Linked DNA regions of Homo sapiens: all the other regions are linked to region 4. Evidence: promoter capture Hi-C in 16 types of primary human blood cells and fetal thymus (Javierre and others, 2016). All regions are on one chromosome and are shown on one strand. Each heading gives the region's core, a stretch centred on a gene start or on the middle of the fragment in contact. The rest is flanking DNA. Distances are from core to core; before and after follow the strand shown. Region 1 holds the start of MRPL10 (mitochondrial ribosomal protein L10). Region 2 overlaps NPEPPS (aminopeptidase puromycin sensitive). Region 3 overlaps KPNB1-DT (KPNB1 divergent transcript). Region 4 holds the start of GOSR2 (golgi SNAP receptor complex member 2).

Evidence for each region. The method cuts DNA at HindIII sites, captures the fragments that hold promoters and counts their contacts. A CHiCAGO score of 5 or more calls a contact.
Region 1: a contact is called between the fragment with the promoter of MRPL10 here and the fragment with the promoter of GOSR2 in region 4, in 4 of 17 cell types (total CD4 T cells, total B cells, erythroblasts and 1 more). The highest score is 7.0, in total CD4 T cells.
Region 2: a fragment that was not itself captured here is called in contact with the fragment with the promoter of GOSR2 in region 4 in 3 of 17 cell types (naive B cells, naive CD4 T cells and total B cells); the score reaches 9.4 in naive B cells.
Region 3: a fragment that was not itself captured here is called in contact with the fragment with the promoter of GOSR2 in region 4 in 1 of 17 cell types (naive B cells); the score reaches 6.0 in naive B cells.

Annotation. Positions count from the first base shown.
Region 1 is chr17:47,829,655-47,833,035 of GRCh38, forward strand. MRPL10 (mitochondrial ribosomal protein L10) reads right to left here and starts at 1,887. Exons shown (of 5, transcript NM_145255.4): 1 at 1,806-1,887. The coding sequence starts at 1,857. It overlaps LRRC46 (leucine rich repeat containing 46), which reads left to right and starts at 2,016. Exons shown (of 8, transcript NM_033413.4): 1 at 2,016-2,345; 2 at 2,446-2,551. The coding sequence starts at 2,336. RefSeq lists enhancers at 469-1,300, 1,301-2,130 and silencers at 1,593-1,652, 1,893-2,052. The HindIII fragment of the contact is 9,003 bases long and covers 1-3,381 here.
Region 2 is chr17:47,619,826-47,623,258 of GRCh38, forward strand. NPEPPS (aminopeptidase puromycin sensitive) reads left to right here. Exons shown (of 23, transcript NM_006310.4): 23 at 1,943-3,433. The coding sequence ends at 2,095. KPNB1-DT (KPNB1 divergent transcript) reads right to left here. Exons shown (of 4, transcript NR_171700.1): 4 at 1,702-2,262. Among named protein-coding and RNA genes, the nearest start is that of KPNB1-DT, 28 kb to the right of the region's middle. The HindIII fragment of the contact is 6,563 bases long and covers 1-3,433 here.
Region 3 is chr17:47,641,234-47,644,329 of GRCh38, forward strand. All of the region lies in intron 1 of KPNB1-DT (KPNB1 divergent transcript), which reads right to left. Among named protein-coding and RNA genes, the nearest start is that of KPNB1-DT, 6.6 kb to the right of the region's middle. The HindIII fragment of the contact is 5,052 bases long and covers 1-3,096 here.
Region 4 is chr17:46,921,283-46,924,765 of GRCh38, forward strand. GOSR2 (golgi SNAP receptor complex member 2) reads left to right here and starts at 1,878. Exons shown (of 6, transcript NM_004287.5): 1 at 1,878-1,939. The coding sequence starts at 1,911. It overlaps GOSR2-DT (GOSR2 divergent transcript), which reads right to left and starts at 1,589. Exons shown (of 3, transcript NR_186460.1): 1 at 1,529-1,589. It also overlaps a transcript of LRRC37A2 not described here. RefSeq lists an enhancer at 1,854-2,578. The HindIII fragment of the contact is 7,846 bases long and covers 1,449-3,483 here.

The DNA.
Region 1 (3,381 bases), core at 637-3,136, 910 kb after region 4:
AAGGTGGGCAGCTCACTTGAGGTCAGGAATTCAAGACCAACCTGGCCAACATGGTGAAACCCCGTCTCTAACTAAACTACAAAAATTAGCCAGGCGTGGTGGCACACACCTGTAGTCCCAGCTACTCAGGTGGCTGAGCCATGAGAATTGCTTGAACCCAAGAGGCAGAGGTTGCAGTGAGCCGAGATTGTGCCATTGCACTCCGGCACTCCGGCCTGGGTGACAGAGCAAGACTGTCTCAAAAAAAAAAAAAGAAAGAAAGAAAGAAAAATAAACATAAATTCTCAGGCCCTGCCTAGACCTACTGAATCAGCAATTCTGGGGTGGAGCCTAGCAAATAGTGTTTTTTGTTTGTTTTGTTTTGTAGAGACCAGGTTTCACTATGTTACCAAGACGGGTCACAAATAGTGTTCTAACAAGCCCTCCTGGTGATGCTGACGCATGCTAAAGTTTGAAAACCACCACTCTAACCGCTGCTCTGACACCCTGTCCTATGATTTGAAGAGGAGAAAAAAATGTTACACCATTCTCACAGCTCTCAGACAAGTTTCTCTTTCCTCCTCTCTTCCTGTTTACAGATAATGCTACAGAGCACCCCACAGAAAACAAGGGAGGCACTCAAAAGCCCTGAGACAAAGTGACCACTTAATCCTCAACACAAGGGCCAAGACTAGAACTTCCCACTTTCAGTCATTTCCAAGACTGGGATGTGACCTCAGAAAAAGGTCCAGATAGAAGGCGGCTCTAACAGTCAGAGAGTATGGATATTTGCTGGGGTAAGAGGTCTTATTGCCAGCAGCCACAAAACCTAACTGTTAAGACTGCAGGCAGGCTTTGGAATCAAATTAAACTGGATTTTTTTTTTTTTTGAGATGGAGTCTCGCTCTGTTGCCCAGGCTGGAGTGCAGCAATGCGATCTCGGCCCACTGCAACCTCTGCCTCCTGGGTGTAAGCGATTCTCACGCCTCAGCCTCCTGAGTAGCGGGGACTACAGGCACGCGCCACCACACCCGGCTCATTTTTGTATTTTTAGTAGAGTTGGGGTTTCGCCATGTTGGCCAAGCTGGTCTCAAATTCTTGACCTCAGGTGTTCCCTCCGCCTCAGCCTCCCAAAGTGCTGGGATTACAAGCGTGAGCCACCGCGCCCAGCCGAAACTGGATTTTAATCTCTCTTCCGCCAATTACTAGCTGTGACCTTGGCCACCCAACTGGTCTGAACTTCAGTTGCTGCGTCTGTAAAGAGGAGATGCGAATGTCTTTCTCACAGGGTGCTTTAGATTTAAATGATTTAAAAGATTTAAATGAGCTAACACATATAAAAATAGTTATCACAGTGCCTGGCCTATATTAAGTGCTCAAATCCATTCACTAAACAAATATCTACCGCACGCTTACTAACATCCAGCACCATGCCACCTGCTGGCTATGCTGAATGAACATGGTTCTGCCCTTGCGGAGTTTAATAGAGGAAACAAGCAACTAAACAAATGCAAAATTACAGATTGCGACGGGGCTAAGGAGTCAAGGGAAGACCTGAGGTGACATTTAGACTGACACATTAAGATGGAGACATAATGCAAAGGTCTGGGCGAGGAGTGGTCCAGGCAAAAGAAACGCTGGAGACAGACAACATCTGGACGTTGTTGCTGTGATTACCAGTCGAGTCACAAGGAACTGGACGGGGTAAGGAGGCCAGCGATCTAGCTGGGGTCAGAGATTATGGGAAGAATCAGTAGTAGAGGAGGGCAGATGAGGACTAGAGAGCGGCCGCAAGACACGCCGTGAGGACCTGGGCCACTCCTTACCCGCCTGGGGCAGGAGACCCCCTCGCAGCATCCCCGCCACGGCCGCAGCCATCTCCACCGGAAGAATGGACGGAAGCCGAGTGGAGACGGAAAGAGCTAAGGATTGTGGGGTAGCGAACCCCGGGGCCGGAAGCAGTGGGCGTACCCGCCGGCTGTAGCCGTAAGACGCATGCGCTAGGCCGGGCCAACGGAGCCCGCCTTTACCTCCCCACTCGGCGTCCAGTCTCTTAGCAACGACTCCGGCTTCCTAGGAACTGCTCCTTTCTCAACCATTCCTGCCCACAACACCCCAGCTTGCTGCCAGCAAAGCCCCTCCACACCCCTCAAACTCCAGACCCTTCACATCAATTTACTGTTTTCTTCGACCTCACCCCAGCAATTTTCTCTGAATCAACCCCCTTTCCTCCTCTCCTAAGTCTCTGAGTTTCTCTCTCCTCCTGCCATCCTGAGTTCTGCCATCCTTAGGGGCCGCCAAGACCTCTCTTTTCGTTCCTCTCCCGCCTCAGACCAGCAGCCTTTTATTTTAGATCATGTCTGGAGGTGAGTAGGGAGGTGGGACGGTGGGTAGAGCAGTTGGAAAACAGCGGGGTAAGGCCTCCAAGAGTGAGGAAGTGTCACAGTTGGACTCATCTTTTCACAGGGAAGTCAGCCCAGGGTCCAGAGGAAGGGGGCGTCTGCATCACTGAAGCCCTTATCACTAAGCGGAACTTGACTTTCCCTGAAGATGGGGAACTGTCAGAGAAGATGTGAGTGCATGGGGGAGAAAAGGGGTGCTAGAAGGCTGAAACACTCAGGATGACCAGGTCCCTGACGTGTACTGATTTGTCAACTGATCTTTGTTTCTCTCCTTACTCCACACATTCAATCAGTGGTAATGCCCAGCTGATTTTCCCTTCTTCAAAATAATTCCATTTCTTTTTCACCATCCTCACTCAACTGTCTTAGATAAGGCCGTGTTCACCTCTCTCCTACACACCCACCACTTTGGGAGGCTGAGGCAGGAGGATCACTTGAGCCCAGGAGTTTGAGACCAGCCTGGGCAATAGAGACAGAATCCTATCTCTAAAAAATAAAAATAAACTAGCTGAGCATGGTGGTGCACACCTGTAGTCCTAGGTGGCTGAGACAGGAGGATCACTTGAACCCAGGTACCTGTGGCTGCAGTAAGCTATGATCATGCCATTGCATGCCAGCCTGGGCAACAGGGTGAGACCCTATTTCTAAAACAAACAAAAAGTAAAGTATTTTTAATTACTTTTTTAGAGATGGGGTCTTGCTCTGTTGGCCAGACTGGTCTTGAACTCCTCAAACAATCCTCCCACTTCAGCCTCCTGAGTAGCCAAAGTGATCCTTTTAAATAACAAATCTAATCAGGCATTCACTGATAGAAACTTCCTCCCAAATAAATCCCAATGCCTAAGCATGAGTTGACTTCTGCTTTTCAGCCTTATTTCTGGCCACTCTCCACAAGTGTACAATTTCCCACACTGTGTACTCACACCTTAGTACCTTACTACTCAGAGTATGTGTGGATGGGAGGGGGTGCAGGGGTAGGACAGCAGCATTGGCATCACAG
Region 2 (3,433 bases), core at 768-3,267, 700 kb after region 4:
AGTAAAAACAATAACCTGGTTGTAATTATAGTGTTGGGATAATGTACTGTAGCATCTCTGTGTTTTTGTTTAGAGAAAGACATCATGCAGGGCTGTATAGGCCATATTAAGAATTTCCTAAAAATGGCCAGGCATGGTAGCTCACATCTGTAATCTCAGCACTTTGGGAGGCCGAGGTGGGTGGATCACCTGAGGTCAGGACTTCAAGACCAGCCCGGGCAACATGGTGAAACCCCAAATTAGCTGGACATGGTGGTGCACGCCTCTAATCCCAGCTACTCGGGAGGCTGAGGCAGGAGAATTGCTTGAGCCCGGGAGGTGGAGGTTGCAGTGAGCTGAGATCGTGCCATTGCACTCCAGCCTGGGTGACAGAGCGAGACTCCTGTCTCAAAAAAAAAAAAAAAAAAAAAAGTCCTAAAAATGGAAAGCCTTCGAATGGTTTATAAACAAGGCAGTGCCTTGATCTGATTTGTGTTATAAAAATTTCAGTCTGGCTGCAATGTGGATAATAGTTTGGAATGGGGAAGAGAAGATGTTGGGAAGCTAACTCTCCTAGCAAGAATGATAGAATAGCTTACAGTAGGGTAGTGGCAGTAGTGGAGGAGATGGAATAATGGAGATTCAGGGGCTTGAATTTGTTAACCATTTAGTTCAACAATATTTATTGATTGGCTTCTCTGTTGTGAGCATATCTGGGAGAGGAAGAAAAACAAGCCAGGATAATCCCCAGGTTTCTGGTGTATAAATGTTGGTACTACTCTGCGATGGAATGGAAAAAGACTTGAGGCCCTGAGAACTGAACCATGATTAGGAGCCTTGGAACAGTAGCAATTGTCATCTGTGTAAATAAGGTTATTGATTTCTAAAAGGTCTATGTTTAATCAGATGGATTAGTCATTCTGTCTTTCACACCTGTGGTGACTAATTCAAAGGAAAAGCCCTATCATTTTGCCAGCTGGTGTTTAAGAGTTGCTTTGTTTTCTGTGAAACCAGGTGTACTGCATTAGAAAAGTTTATTCAACTTTTAATCATTAAGCATTGTGATAAATTGTAAACTTAGAAATTGTTTGGTTTACTGTATTAAAAATGTTGGATTCCTGTAATTCCAGCATTTTGGGAGGCTGAGGTGGGAGGATTGCTTGAGTTCAAGAGTTCAAGACCAGTCTGGGCAACATGGTAGGACCCCATCTCTACAAAAAGGAAAAAACAATTTGGCCTGGGAGTGCACGCTTGTGGTCCCAGCTACCCAGGAAGTTAAGGTGGGAGGTTTACTTGAGCCCAGAAGGTTGAGGCTGTGATGAGCCATGATCGTTTCATTGCACTCTAGCCTGGGCAACAGAGTGAGACCCTGTCTCAAAAAAAAAAAAAAAAAAAAGACCATGGGGTGTTAAATTATTAGGGCATAGCAGCAATTTAAACTTCTTTGTATTATCATCCCTTACAAATTAATCTTTATTTGAAGCAGCCAAAATGTGTTGAATCCTTAAGTACTCTGTGCTAGGTATTTTGTCAAATGTTTATATGGATTGTCTCTTTAATCTTCTGGAGTAGATATTTTCTCATAGTTGAGAAAACTGAGACTTAGAGCAGTTAATTTTCTCACAGTCACAAGCTAGTACATGACTAAGCCTGGATTCAGGTTCCAAGTCTTCATTCCAAAGACTATATTTACCACTACACAATTAGCCTAAAAGAAAGGCAGTAGGTTCTGTCTCTTTATTAACTTTTGATTAGGTTGTTAAGCATATAATTAAGGGGAGAATTCCTATATGCAGGTCCAAGGAGTTGCTTGTTTTCTTTTAGCCTGAGGGTGGCAGTGGTAAATTCTCATGCCTGAAGATTATGCATCCTTCATATAGACCAGTGGGTATTTTTTCATAACCTGTAATATTAACTTCTTATTGCTAGTAATGATCCTGCATTCTGGGTTGTTTTATACCAGGCTTTCTTCGAGAGTCACCCAGCTCCTTCAGCTGAGCGTACCATCCAGCAGTGTTGTGAAAATATTCTGCTGAATGCTGCCTGGCTAAAGCGAGATGCTGAGAGCATCCACCAGTACCTCCTTCAGCGGAAGGCCTCACCACCCACAGTGTGAATCCTGAGGTGCCGCCATTGGCGGTTCTGCTGCTTCGCTGCAGGGATAAGGTGGAGCTACCGAACAGCTGATTCATATGCCAAGAATTTGGAGTCTTCTTTCAAACCAGTGGGGGTTGGACAATGAATGTAGTTAACTGGTTCCTGCTCACACTCCAGAATTAAATTCTATTGAAAAAGGAAAATCAGCAATTCAGCAAAAAATAAATAAAAAATAAAAATGTAAATATGATAGTAATAAAATAGAGCATAACGAAACTGTGAAACTTTCTGAAGCCTTGTCAGTGGTTAAAAGTATTTAACACTCTACTGTTAATGACAGATGTTCTGTTTTTATAACCTACCAAAAGGAAACTAGAGGCTTCTTGGTGAAGAGCATTTTTGTGAAGTGGGTTCTGCAAGGAGCCTATAAAGCCAAGGGTGGTGTCCATTTCTGGGAATGGTTAAACACAAAAGGCTGATAGCTGGTATCACATAGTTGGAGTCAGTGCATAATTCCAAGTGGCTTTTTTTTTTTTTGGCACGGGGACTGATCAGGAAGATATATTCCTGCATAACTCAATCTGAACCAAGGATTGTAGTTTAGTTTTCCTCCTTGCCTTCCCTTCTGTGTGACCGACCCCTTGGCCAAAAAAAAACAAAAAGCAAAAAACAAAAACCTACCCTGTTCTGGTTTTTTTCCTCCCTTTAGTTCCACCCCCAACCCCCATTCCCTGGTGTCCTTCTTAGAGATGAAGAAATAATAAGGAAACATCTTTCATAGCCACATTAAATAAGAGAAACTGATATACATTATTTTTTTCTTTTTAAAGATGACTTATAAGAACCCTGAAATTTATATAGGTGAGACAATAGAAATAAAAAGATCTTCAGCCAGGCCTTTCTGAAGGAGTTATTCTGCTAAAAATGGTCTTAGTTGTCTGAAAAGCCAGCTCTTGAACCTCTTCACAACAGTATCAACACTGGCTTCTCCCGGTTCATTTTATGCGTGCGAGAAGTCAGTGGTAACTGCTGCAGGGCTTAATACATTAGTGGTAACTGGTTTAAAAAACAAAGACTGTAAGCCTGTGTGTGCCACTGTTTGCTTCAACAGTATATCCTAATAAGCCTCACCTATTTAATCCAATGAGTTTTAAATCTAAATCTCATTCCCTTCTTCTTTCCCTACCTTTTTTTTCTTTTTTTCTTAAAAAAATATTTTGTGTTATTAACAGAAATTCATATTTGGTGTGGCTTAACGGTATTTCAGAAGGTCATCAGATTGTGAGACTGCTTCCTTGAAACATTTTTGTGCTATTGTTTTAAAAAAATAATTAAAAAACAGTTGGCGTTAATAAAA
Region 3 (3,096 bases), core at 184-2,683, 720 kb after region 4:
TTTTTAATAGAGTCGGGGTTTTTCCATGTTGGTCAGGATGGTCTTGAATTCCCGACCTCAGGTGATCCACCCGCCTCAGCCTCCCAAAGTGCTAGGATTACAGGCGTGAGCCACTGTGCCTGGCCAGGAAATTTTATTTTTACCATATGTTTGTCTATGCAAATTTTGTGGGCAGATGGATAACATGAGGCTTTTTGAAAGCACTGTCATGAGTTAATTCTTTTCTTTGTATTTAGAAGCAGTATACAGCAAAATGGTTGACAGCCCAGAATCTGTAGCCAGACTACCTGGGCTAGTAGTATTCAGATCCCAGGTGTCACTTCTCTCAGCTGGGTGACCTTAAGCAACTAACCTAAACTCTTTGAGCCTTAGTTTCCTTTTTCGTTTTTTGTCTTTTTTTTGAGAGGGAGTCTCGTTCTGTCGCCCAGGCTGGAGTGCAGTGGCGCGATCTTGGCTCACTGCAACCTCCACCTCCTTGGTTCAAGCAATTCTCCTGCCTCAGCCTCCCGAGTAGCTGGGATTACAGGTGTCCACCACCATGCCCGGCTAATTTTTTTGTATTTTCTCGTAGAGACGGGGTTTCATCGTCTTGGCCAGGCTGGTCTTGAACTCCTGACCTCATGATCCACCCGCCTCGCCGCCTCGGCCTCCCAAAGTGCTGGGATTACAGGCATGAGCCACCGCACCTGGCCAAGCCTTAGTTTCTTGACTGTAAAAAAGGCACAATAGGAGTACCTATTTTGGAGGGTTGCTGGGAGGATTAAATGAGTTACTATATGTAAAGAGCCTTGAACAATACAAAGAGTAAGTGTTTTAAAAACATCAGGCTGGGTGCAGTGGCTCATACCTATAATACTAGCACTTTGGGAGGTGGGAGGTTCACTTAAGCCCAGGAGTTTGAGACCAGCCCGGGCAACATGACAAAACCCCATTTCTACAAAAAATACCCCCCAACACACCCCAAAAATTAGCCAGGTGTGGTGGCACACACCTGTAGTCCCAGCTACTGAGGAGGCTGAGGTGGGAGGATCACTTAAGCGGGAAGTTCAAGGCTACAGTGGGATCACATCACTGCACTCCAGCCTGGGTGACAGAGCAAGATGCTGTCTCAAAAAAAAAAAAAAAAAAAAAAAAAGGGCCGTGTGCAGTGGCTCACGCCTGTAATCCCAGCACTTTGGGAGGCCGAGGCAGGTGGATCACCTGAGGTCAGGAGTTCGAGACCAGCCTGACCAACATGGAGAAACCGCGTCTCTACTAAAAACACAAAAAAATTAGCTGGGCATGGTGGCACATGCCTGTAATCTCAGCTACTCGGGAGGCTGAGGCAGAAGAACCGCTTGAACGCAGGAGGCGGAGGTTGCGGTGAGCCAAGATCGTGCCATTGCACTCCAGCCCGGGAAACAAGAGCGAAAGTCGGTCTCAAAAAAAAAAAAAAAAGCTATTATTTTCATGAAGCAATGATATTGTTTGGACAATAAAAATGCTTACTATGTGCTAGGCAGGAAACACAGGAATTTATATGACATGGCTTCTAACCTTGAGGAGCTATAAATGTGGTTCTCAATTGTGGGGAGGATTTAGCAGGGATTCACTCCCTTCCTAGGAGTTATTCTGTAACATCTGGAGACATTTTTGATTGTCCCACCATGACTTGGTGGGAGACGAGCCAGTGGAACTTAGTAGGCAGGGGCCAGAAATGCTGCTAAACATTCTGAAATGAACAGGACAGCTTCCCCAAAGGTAATTATGTGAGGGCAGGCACAGTGGCTCATGCCTATAATCCCAGCACTTTGGGAAACCGAAGCGGGTGGATCACTTGAGGCCAGGAGTTCGATACAAGCCTGGGCAACACAGCAAAACCCCGTCTCTACAAAAAATACAAAAATTAGCCATGTGTGGTGGTGCATGCCTGTAATCCCAGCTACTCAGGAGGTTACCCAGCTACTGGGAGGCAGAGGTCACAGTGAGCCAAGATCACGCCATGGCACTCCAGTCTGAACAAGAGTGAGACTCTGCTCTCTGCCACCACCGCCCCCCAACACCCACAAAAAAAAGAATTATGTTGTCCAAAATAATCAAGGTTGAGAAACCCTGAGTCATAGTCTAACTCAGGACAAAAGATACATGCATACATACAAATTGTACAAGGCAGACAATCAAAATAGAGCATTATGCAATTATACATATAAAAAAAAAAACAGAAAAGATAGAATAGCCCTGGGCCAGAGTACAGGATTCCCTGTGACACCTGGCCAGGAAGACAGGCCTCAGTGAACTTCCAGTTTTGGGACCCAGTGGACATACTTCAACGATTTGCAACTTTTAGCTTATTCTATCAGTAGGTACCTTTTTTAAAGGTTAAGTCAAAGTTAAAAGGCTTCACTTCTGCATTGCACTACCAGTGTGAAAATGTACTGGGGCCAGTTCACATATGTTTAATTCATATTATCTTTTCAATGCAACTTGATAAAGAGTTGAGTCAATTTAAAATTCTTAAAAGGGCGGAGCAAGGTGGCTCATGTCTATAATCCCAGCATCTTGGGAGGCAGAGGCAGGAGGATCACTTGAGTCCAGGAGTTTAAGACCTGTCTGGGCAACATAGGGAGACCCTGTCTCTACAAAAAAATGAACAAAATTAGCCAGGTGCAGTGGCTCACACCTGTAGTCCCAGCTTTTTGGGAGGCTAAGGGAGGAGGACTGTTTGAGCCCGGGAGGTTGAGGCTGCAGTGAGCCAAGATCATGCCATTGCATTTCAGCCTGGGCAACAGAGCAAGATCCAGTCTCAATAAATAAATAAATAAATAAAATCATTAAAAGTACATTTTTTGGAGTCAACAAGAAATGATACATAGGAATATTTTGGTTTCCATTTAAAATAGAACCATTTTGGGGAAAATATGCCAATATTTTAATGGTGGATATAATTTGAGGTTGCAGGTGGTTTCTGCGGAATTCCTTTTCAAAATTCCTACAGTGAGGAACATATATTTCTTTGATAATCTGAGAAAGAAGAAAGCATCTGGGCGCAGTAACTCACGCCTGTAATCTCAGCACTTAGGAGGCTGAGTCAGGTGGACTGCTTGAGCTCAGGAGTTC
Region 4 (3,483 bases), core at 628-3,127:
AGAAAGCTGAAACTGGATCCCTTCCTTACACCTTATACAAAAATCAATTCAAGATGGATTAAAGACTTACATGTTAGACCTAAAACCATAAAAACCCTAGAAGAAAACCTAGGCAATACCATTCAGGACATAGGCATGGGCAAGGACTTCATGTCTAAAACACCAAAAGCAATGACAACGAAAGCCAAAATTGACAAATGGGATCTAATTAAACTAAAGAGCTTCTGCACAGCAAAAGAAACTACCATCAGAGTGAACAGGCAACCTACAGAATGGGAGAAAATTTTTGCAATCTACTCATCTGACAAAGAGCTAATATCCAGAATCTACAATGAACTCAAACAAATTTACAAGAAAAAAACAAACAACCCCATCAACAAGTGGGCGAAGGATATGAACAGACACTTCTCAAAAGAAGACATTTATGCAGCCAACAGACACATGAAAAAATGCTCATCATCACTGGCCATCAGAGAAATGCAAATCAAAACCACAATGAGATACCATCTCACACCAGTTAGAATGGCGACCATTAAAAAGTCAGGAAACAACAGCTGCTGGAGAGGATGTGGAGAAATAAGAACACTTTTACACTGTTGGTGGGACTGTTAACTGGTTCAACCATTGTGGAAGACAGTGTGGAGATTTCTCAGGGATCTAGAACTAGAAATACCATTTGACCCAGCCATCCCATTACTGGGTATATACCCAAAGGATTATAAATCATGCTGCTATAAAGACACATTTACATGTATGTTTATTGCAGCACTATTCACAATAGCAAAGACCTGGAACCAACCCAAATGTCCAACAATGACAGACTGGATTAAGAAAATGTGGCATATATACACCATGGAATACTATGCAGCCATAAAAAATGATGAGTTCATGTCCTTTGTAGGGACACGGATGAAGCTGGAAACCAACATTCTCAGCAAACTATCGCAAGGACAAAAAAACAAACATTACATGTTCTCACTCATAGGTGGGAACTGAACGATGAGAACACTTGGACACAGGAAGGGGGACATCACACTTCGGGGCCTGTTGTGGGGTGGGGAGAGGGGGAAGGGATAGCATTAGGAGATATACCTAATGTAAATGACGAGTTAATGGGTGCAGCACACCAACATGGCACATGTATACATATGTAACAACCCTGCACGTTGTGCACATGTACCCTAGAACTTAAAGTATAATAATAAAAAATAATAAAATAAAGAAAAAAAATCTATAACTACATTTCTTGTAATTTTGTCTTTTGAGAGTATACATATCTTATTTCCTTTCCCAGACCAGAACCTCTTTGAGGGCAGGAGGAACCCGGTTTTCCCTACTTTACACATGACACATAATAACCACTCATTCAATGTAGGTTTACTGGATGGATAAATAGGAATGGGGGGTAGATAGGCGGGAGAGTGAGTAGACAAATGCGAAACAGGAAAAGCTTGCGCCAGGAAAAACAGTGAAGAGCGAAATCTCCAGACCCCCGATTAAATGGTTTAAAGTGAAGCCAAGCAAGAACCTCCAGTCCTCTCTGCGGCAGAGAACAGCAGATGATAGCGGCTCGCCTTCAACTTTGCTCTGAGGACCTCTCGTTAGTATCCCGCGATTGTCCTTCCTAACGCCTGACTGAATCCTGAGGCTAGCCTTCAGCGAACATGTACACCGCCTTGCCCTTCACGTGAAGCCGAGCCTGTGACTACACTTATCCTTCCGTCGCCGGCCTCATTTCTCCTTCCCCTTCTCCGATCTCGCAACCACTGCTAGTAAGGCGCGCGTGCGGGCAGCCCTGGCCGGCAGGGGAGGGAGGGTCCTGCGACCGGAAGCCGGAAACCGGAAGGGGGGCTGTGAGGACGTGTTCCGAGGAAGCCAGAGCCGGAGCCGTGGCCTGCGGGGCCGGCGACATGGATCCCCTGTTCCAGCAAACGCACAAGTGAGGGCCGGTCGGGGAGCGGGCAGGGGCTAGACGAGGCGAGGCCAGGTGAGCCTGGCTTCTGGGGCTGAGGCCTCGGACGTCAGCCAGGGTAGAGGCCGAGTTTTTCCGCCAGGGCACTGCTGGGGATGCCTCCGAAGTGCTTAATCCTTGGCGGGACTCCCAGGTCAGCCACAGACAGTGGGTTCAGGCTGGGGCCTGGAGACGTGGGGCAGATGACTCCTGGGGTCTGCAAGTTCGTGACTACCTGCTGGGTAGACTGGGTGACGGGAAACTGGCACCTGCAGGTTATAAAACTTTGTCCAGCACTTGTCAACTCGGTGCTCCTGGTTGGTAGACCTCGAGAGGAGACACGGAGTAGGAGACACGGCCCCTGGCCGTAGGAGTGTACTGTTTAATTGGAGAGTCAGGGCACGTACGGGAAAGTATTTGTATTCTTATTCGATTTATACTAAAGACCACATTTTTATGGTACAAAGAAATTGCTGTCCACGTAGCATTCACTATTATTACTTGTTAATCGTATCTGGTTACAGGTTATCGCTAAGAAAATCAAATTGTAATTTAGTTTCTCATAACTTAAATTCCTTGGTAGTGTCCTTTATTCGCATCGTCCTGCACTTTCGGAATTGCTGAGATACGTAGTTGAGTATTAATGGGGCCATACTTACCCTATTTTTGGGGGCGGGGGGCAGAATTATGATTTTTACCCTGTTTTGGAGGGACGGAATTTTATGATTTTTATTTTTTATTGTAAAATATACACAACATAAGATTTACTGTTTTAACAATTTTTAAGTGTACAATTCAGTGACATTGAGTACATTCACAACTTACATCACTACGATCCATTTCCAGAACTTTTTCATCATCCCAGTGTGCCTGTTAATCAGTAGCACTTCATTTCTTCCTTCCAGAACACCTAGTAACCTCTGTTTTACTTCTCTCTATGAGTTTACCTATTCTAGATACTTAATATAAGTGGAGTCATACAGAATTTGTCCTTTTGTATCTGGCTTATTTCACTTAATGTTTTCAGGGTTCATCTATATTGTAGCCTGTTACCAGAATTTCATTCTGTTTTATGACGGAATAATATTCCGTTTTATGTGTCTACCACATTTTGTTATCCATTCATCTGTTGATGGACACTTGAGTTGTTTCCACCATTGGGCTGTTGAGAATAATACTGCTATGAACTCTGGTGTAGAAGTATCTGTTTTAGTTTCTCTTCTCAATTTTTTGAGGTATATACCTATCCTATTGAGAACTTTCAAACTTATGCTGTAGTTTTGTTGATTAAAACACTTAAAATCACACTCCCAAGGCCTGGAAATGAAATGCCCTGAAGCATGAGGAATAAGAGGGTGATGATCCTCTTTCTCTTTCATTTTCTAAGTTTATGGGTTTCTTTTATTTTGGCGATGAGGTGTTTCATTTGGACAGGCGAAAATACAGAACCTACTTTGTAATGACAGAATTTTCTTTTACACTGGGGAGCCCTATTCTCACATAAACGTTATAGGAAGGGACTTAAAACTAGT